2 separate regions of the Homo sapiens genome follow, and region 1 is linked to region 2. The links are contacts of gene promoters, found by promoter capture Hi-C in blood cells and fetal thymus (Javierre and others, 2016). All regions are on one chromosome and are shown on one strand. Each heading gives the region's core, a stretch centred on a gene start or on the middle of the fragment in contact. The rest is flanking DNA. Distances are from core to core; before and after follow the strand shown. Region 1 has its middle 58 kb from the start of RAPH1. Region 2 holds the start of CTLA4 (cytotoxic T-lymphocyte associated protein 4).

The links. The method cuts DNA at HindIII sites, captures the fragments that hold promoters and counts their contacts. A CHiCAGO score of 5 or more calls a contact.
Region 1: a contact is called between a fragment that was not itself captured here and the fragment with the promoter of CTLA4 in region 2, in 1 of 17 cell types (monocytes). The highest score is 6.1, in monocytes.

The regions. Positions count from the first base shown.
Region 1 is chr2:203,591,573-203,595,387 of GRCh38, reverse strand. No RefSeq gene overlaps it. Among named protein-coding and RNA genes, the nearest start is that of RAPH1, 58 kb to the right of the region's middle. The HindIII fragment of the contact is 2,745 bases long and covers 64-2,808 here.
Region 2 is chr2:203,865,944-203,869,774 of GRCh38, reverse strand. It overlaps CTLA4 (cytotoxic T-lymphocyte associated protein 4), which reads right to left and starts at 2,004. Exons shown (of 4, transcript NM_005214.5): 1 at 1,724-2,004. The coding sequence starts at 1,832. The HindIII fragment of the contact is 240 bases long and covers 1,898-2,137 here.

The sequences.
Region 1 (3,815 bases), core at 187-2,686, 270 kb after region 2:
TTATTTTCCATGCTAATTGTCCTAATCTACAAGCCTCTCACTTGTCTTTGTCTCTTTTAAGCTTGGTTCTCAGAATAACACCCCAGAAATGGTAAAACTAGAAAGGAGAAGAGAGTGATTCTTTTCCCTGGCCCCCAGGCTGAGCACAGGATAACACTTCCATTACATTGCATTGGTGCATCTAACAGCCTTTACAGACTGTTGCTATATATTAAGTTAAGGTCAATTAATATCTCTCCTTTTTTTCCTTTTTTAATAGACTACATTTTAGAACAGCTTCAGGTTCACAGCAAAATTGACTGAAAGGTACAAAGATTTCCCATATTCCCCCTATCCCCACACATGCATTGCCTCTGTGTCTTTTTCACATGAGCTGCTATCAAACCAGGCCTACCCCTTCCTGAACCTGTTTAATGTTAGGGTTAACATCAATGAATACTTTTATATTTATGTGCATTGACTTCATCTCTGTTGAACTTCATATGATTGCTATCAGCTCATAATCAAGGAACAGAGGACTATTTCATTATCCTTCAGCTACTTCAGCTGACCTTTGTGTATGGAAAGGGGGTTTCTGTAGCAGTGTCTCACAGGAAGACTTCTGAGAAATCTCAAAATGTTCAGTAAACAAAAAACACTTGGAGAAAGATCTATGGATTGCAGAAGGAAATCTCCCTAACCAAAGTCTCATAACTAGCATTCCTGTGGTGAGAAAAGACTGTTTTAATAAGATTTTATTATTAAGATGATTGATCTAGTAAAGTATTTTTAGCATTAATAGATATCTCTGCTGCAAACATAATTGCAATTCCAAAGTTTGAAAATATTTTTCTATGTTCTGAACATTTAACATGGATTTTTAAAAATTAAAACACTTTTTCAATAAAACAACACCTATAGATGCGTATTATCCATCACGTGAAACAGAAGTATTGAGACTTTTTCCAAAGGAGGCACCAATTATTGAGTGTAAAAGCATGGGTGTGCCGGGCATGGTGGCTCACATCTTTAATCTCAGCACTTCAGGAGGCTGAGGCAGGAGGATTGCTTCAGGCCAGGAGTTTAAGAGTACCCTTGGCAACGTAGCAAGACCCTGTCTCTACAGGAAAAAAAAATTTTTTAATTATCCAGGCATGGTCATACCTGCCTGTAGTCCCAGCTACTTGAGAGCCTGAGGCAATAGGATGCCTTCAGCCCAGGAGTTAGAGACTGCAGTGAACTAGAATCACATCACTGCACTCCTCCCTGGGTGACAAAGCAAGACCTTGTCTCTAAAAAATAAATAAGTAAATAAAAGCATGGCTGGGAGTGCTGAAGGGACATGGAAAAAGGCTACTTTATTTTTGGCCTCTCCTAAGAAAGTTAGAGGTGGCCAGCAGATAGGACATGGTACCCTTCACCTTCAACAGGCAAGGATTAACCAGGCATCCTTTGGGTAAAAGTCACATAAACTCATTAACAATGGCTTATGCAAAAAGAGAATGCATTAATTATGCAGTAATTAAAATGTCCTGAAGTTAGTGTTAGCAATTCCATTTCTGCATATATCCCTAGACCTGCATGAAGATGTCAATGACAGCATTGTTCATGGTAGTCGGAGCTTTACTGAACCTAGGAGCTCTAGCCACAGTTGGGCCAATGGGTTATATACAGTAGTGTGGTGAGAACTTTAAAACACAGTACTGGGTTAAAAACAAAAAAAAAGAATCTTAGTGAAATCTATAATATAATGCCATTTGTATTACCTTTTTAATTTAAATTTATATTAAAAACACATATATACACAAAACGATGCCAATATATGTTATTGGGTATGTATGTATCTTTGAAAAATACATAAACACATTTAAGTGGTGCCTGTAGTAACAGGAGAATGAGAGAGGGAATGCTGGATGAAGAACAGTAATTTTTTAAGTGAATGTTGTCTTTTACACACCAAGTAGTGATGTATGTCAAGAACTGAGGAGTATGATTTACTCAGCTCCGTGCACCATTGGTCCAAGACTTCTAAAAATAAAAAATAAAGGCTGGGCGCGGTGGCTCACGCCTGTACTCCCAGCACTTTGGGAGGCCAAGGCAGACGGATCACGAGGTCAGGAGATCGAGACCATCCTGGCTAACACGGTGAAACCTCGTCTCTACTAAAAATATCAAACATTAGCTGGGCGTGTTGGCGGGTGCCTGTAATCCCAGCTACTCGGGGGGCTGAGGCAAGAGAATGGCGTGAACCCGGGAGGTGGAGCTTGCAGTGAGCCGAGATCCAGCTGCTGCACTCCAGCCTGGGGAAGTGAGACTCCGTCTCAATAAATAAATAATAAAAAAATTAAAAGAAAACAGATCCCTGAGTCTTTTTTTTTCCATCAATGTAATCATGAATCAGGTGGACTCTGTTTCTGTCTCTCAACTCACTTCTCTCTGAATTGGCTTCTTTCTCCAGCAAGCTCTTACCACGTGAAGGGAAAGACAATTCTGGACACAACAAGTATGCATAATGTTTACAGTTCATGATCTCAGGAAGAGAAAGACTTTTGCCATTCCTAACCCTCTACAGACAAGGACTCTGCTTGGCCCTGCTTGAGTCATGTGCCCACCTCCAGACCCATCACCGTCACCTGGAAACAGGTTGTCCTAATTGGTCAGCCTGCACATACACCTACTTTTGCAATGGGGGAGGCAAGGCCCTTTGATTGGCAGCCCCACTAGTGGATGCCACCTCCCAGCTACAGTAAGGCACCTTTAGCACAGTTCCAGGGTTAAAGAAGCCCTAAGCAGTCCCAATTCAGAGATAACTTTACTCTGACAAAAGCTTGTTTATTAATCAGGCAGGACCCTATAAAGTGCAGTCAGGAAATGGCTTTATTTTCTTTTTCTGCCGTGCTTGTGCTTCAGACTTGCTCTGTCCAATCTCTTTTTCCTGACCCCAGACAATATCTTGAGCAAACTCTGTAACTTTTCCAGTGCTTTTCACTTTTGTAATAATCTTATTTCAAGATACTACATGGGACCAGGTACAGTGGCTCACACCTGTAATCCCAGCACTTTGGGAGGCCGAGGCAGGCAGATCACTTGATGTCAGGAGTTTAAGACCAGCCTGGTCAACATAATGAACCTCATCTCTACTAAAAATACAAAAATTAGTCAGGCATGATGGCACACACCCGTAGTCCCAACTACTTGGGAGGCTGAGGCAGGAGGATTGTTTGAACCCAGGAGATGGAGGTTGCATTGAGCCGAGATGGCACCACTGCACTCCAGCCTGGGTGACAGAGTAAGGCTCCATCTCAACAAACAAACAAACAAACAAACAAAAAACAAAAAACAAAAAAAAGATACTATACAGGTTCAGCCTTCTTTAATATCCAAACTTCACTCTTTCTTCTTCTTCAAGTCTTCCTCTCTTACATTCCAGGTCAGGTCTTACTGGGTCCCAGTAACCTGCAGTAGGGAAGTGGAGCATGTTCTTATTCCAGTCACACCCCAGTTACTCTGTGGTTTGTTGTTCCTCCCCAGTGAGGGATAGAGGAGAAAGGAGAAGTAAAAAGCAAAAGGTTCTTCATTATTTAGCTGGTGCTGTTTTCTTTGGATGTTGGTATGTTCTGTGGGACCCATGTTCAAATGCCAGCTGACTCACTCTTGAAGGGAGCTTATGTGTGTTTTTTAGAAAAACCCTCAACCTCCACTGGGGATCTCCAACACTTTCCTTTTTTTCTCAGATGGAAAATATACTCCCCTGGTGACCACTAATGATTCTCCCCTAGCTCTGGGTCAGAAAATAATGCACCACACAGATAGTATTGTTGGGCAAGGTGTTTTAA
Region 2 (3,831 bases), core at 755-3,254:
ATACAGAGAGGCTTGCATCAACTCAAAAATAGTGGCTGCATGCCAAATTACCTTCCTGTAACTAACCAGGCCCCTCTCCAGTCAGTCTGACAAGTGAAACTCAAAACTTGTGTTGCATGATGTCACTCATCTGCTCAATCCCTTTGACACTTTACTAACACTGATCGCAAAAACAAATACAATAAATAACATTCAATGAGTCCCCCATGATCCAATTCCAATCTATCACTCTGGTCTGAATTTCTAGGACACACTTTCCTGCTTATAAATCACCCTATATTAGAGACACTAGTCCCTTCCACCAAGCCACTTGCACGGGACATCTGTCCTCAGAAGAGAAAACAGTTTGGCAGCAGCCATTGTCATGTCTATTCCAGCAGCTCTAGCTAGCTAGACTACAGCTTCCTTCCCTAACCCTCACCTCTGCCTATCAGAGATGCCCTCTGAGCATCCTTAGCACTGTGATAACTCCATTGCAGTAGTTCATTACTTTCTGCTCTGTATTAAAGTTATTTGTGAGCTAATCATATCTCCTCACTCTTTTACTTGTGGTTCATGAACTCCTGTGAGCAGTGATTATAGCCCACCCAAGTGAGCACTCAATAATCTTTATTGTATTGACTCTAAGCTTAAGAAATCCTAAATGTCCTGCCCTCTCCCCAAGCAAGCTCACACTCATCACCACTAAATGCGGTCACACTCAACTTTCCAGTATTGGGAGGGTCCTGTTACTGGTTGAGATAAATTTACTTTAGGAAATTTAAATACTTCTAAGAGTGTTTATTTAATCTTTACATATTTAAAACATGTAAAAATAAGAAAACATATATGAATATTTCTTCTCCAGTAAAAATTAAATCATCAAATATCTTTTGAGTACCTACTTCATACAAACTACATGGTTTCTTAACCAAGAAGGTCTAGAGAGAGATAAGGTTGAGATTCAATGGATATACTCATCATTTTAAGCCGTGTAACAAACCTGGTGTCAGTCTCTGAAGAGCTGAAAACTGAGGATCTGCATCTGAAACCCACACGTAGGTCAGGCAACAATTAAGTATTGTATGCCAAACAGACTGGTGGCTTTCTTTCTTTCCTTTTCCTTGTCTTTTTTTTTTGGCAATTTCAAACTTTTATTTTTAAATAATTGGCTAATTAGCTAGTAGAATTGATTAAGAGAACCTTAAAACCTTGAATTAAGTAAAGAAGGCATTCTTCCCACAATTTCCCTACATTTTAAACAAGCTGGCTAATTCATTTATAAAGTATATGAATCCGAGGACCTTAAAACCTTGAATTGTATAGCAAAAAAACTCTTCCCAGGATTTGCTTAAGTCAATTTTTTTTAAAGGAACTTGTGAGCTCATCCTGAAACCCAGCTCAAATGTATTCAGGACTATGGCTATCCTTTCCCTCTTAAATCACTTCCAGTCTCATAGAAGGGTCTGAAATTGCCTGTGTCTCTCTACTAAACCAACTCACATGCATTCATGAAGCCCCTACTAAATACCTGGCGCTCTGTTCTGAGCTATCTCTTTGCCTTATTTGCTGCCGCCCAACTGCTCCCTGCTGGCCCTGGAATACAGAGCCAGCCAAGCCAGATTGGAGTTTTACCTTTAACTTCTGGCTTTGCTATAAATCACTGCCTTTGACTGCTGAAACAAATGAAACCCAGGTAGGAGAAACACCTCCTCCATCTTCATGCTCCAAAAGTCTCACTCACCTTTGCAGAAGACAGGGATGAAGAGAAGAAAAAACAGGAGAGTGCAGGGCCAGGTCCTGGTAGCCAGGTTCAGCTGAGCCTTGTGCCGCTGAAATCCAAGGCAAGCCATGGCTTTATGGGAGCGGTGTTCAGGTCTTCAGGAAGTAGAGCAAAACCTTTCAGGATCCTGAAGCTTTGAAATGTGTTTGAACCCACACAGAATCAAGGACTTTATATAGATAGCTTTGATCCCAGATATGTATTACACATGTGCACACACAGAAGGCACTTGAATAGAAAGCCTTTTTGTTTTGGTTTTACGAGAAAGGAAGCCGTGGGTTTAGCTGTTACGTCGAAAAGACAACCTCAAGCACTCAACTGAACAAAACAAGCCAATCCATGGATGGAAAATGTATTCAATTTGAAACTGAAGCTTCATGTTCACTTTGAGGATCTGGATAACTAAGTGGAGACTTGGAGAATTTCCTGGAGTACAAGGGTCCTCCTAAATCCCAATTTTATTCAATCTTCTGGGCATCCTTAACCATCCAGTCCAATTCATTTCATTGACAACTCCAAAACTACTAGGCTGCTAACTTTCTGAGCCCTTGGGCTAATGGCAGGATTTGTCTAGGCATCATTAATAAAAACTGTATTCTATCTGTGAAGCACCATCCTTCTAATGGTCCCTTGACAGCTTTACAAATAAGTTTATTTCTCCTAAATCCATTTAGCATTTGGTTAAGAGAAAAAAACTAAAATCACAAGAAATAAACTGAAAATAGGCGGAAAAGAAGCTGCCTCTGGTTTTGCAGAAGGAAAGAATTCAGGTGTTCTTAAAAGCCTTAACTCAACAGAGACAAAACAGAGTTGAAGAAGGTCCAAAGAAAAGCCAACCCAAATGATTCAAGAGATTAGAGCCGTCCATAAAAGGATAGACTTTTTTTTCTAATACAAATTTTTCAAGCAGAAAATTCAAAAGTGAAGATTAAATATAACCAGAGTCCTTAAATTTGTGACAGCTGTAGACAGGACCAATGATCTAACAAAAAGAATTTGAAACATTGAGGACCTTCCTTAAATCTGGAGAGTTTTCATACATTTTAATAAAGAAAGAAACATTCATGGGGAACCTGTAATATGCCCGGAATTCTGTGCACTTAGGATTGAATGATGACAAAACAAAAACATAGTTGATACCTTAAGGGGCTTCTAGAAGGCTGACATGCAAACAGACAGTTGTAACAGGGAATATGACATTTGCCTACTCCAGTCCGTCCATGGTTTCCCATTGTCCACACCTCAGCACAGCAGAGGAGACTCTGCAGAATACTCACCAAATGCCTCCCTCTTTGGCCTGTACCCCAGCATTCCCTCCCATTCCCCCTTCCTGCATTTGTCTTTCCTTCCACGTGCCTCTTTCAGGCCTCATCACCTTTACCCATGCTGTTCCTACTGCCTTTTTTCTCCTATTATCTTATTTTATACTCCTTCTCATCCTCCAGGACTTAGCTCAGCTGTCATCTCCTCCAGGAAGCCTCTTCTTTTTTTTTTTAAAATTTTATTATTATTATACTTTAAGTTTTAGGGTACATGTGCACAACATGCAGATTTGTTACATATGTATACATGTGCCATGTTGGTGTGATGCACAGAAGCCTTTTCTGACCTGCCTGTTTTCTATACACTGCTACACATTATAGAAACCTTCAAGCCCCAGCTCAAGCGCCAACAAGCAATAACAACCTAATGGGCACTTCCTAATGCCAGACTGGGCAACAGAGGTTTTTTAAAAAGTGAAAAACAAATGTTCCTGCCCTCAAGAGGAACACACAGCAGTGGCAGGGACAGACAGCTAAACCCATGATCATGATAGAGTGAGATCAATGCTGGAATTGAAGTATTATGTAGAGGAGCAGAAGCCAGTGGTTCAGCCTGTGGAAGTCAGAAAGGGCTTCTCAGAAGACGAAAAGCCTGAACTTATTATTGAGAACAGAGAAAAGGGTGGATATTCAGACAAGAAGAATAACATGGGCTAAAGTTGGAAACGGCATGAAGAGTTCATTATGGTCACAGGACAAAGCTTGTCTGGGGATGAGCAGAAGGTGCAAGCGGATGCTCTTAGCAGC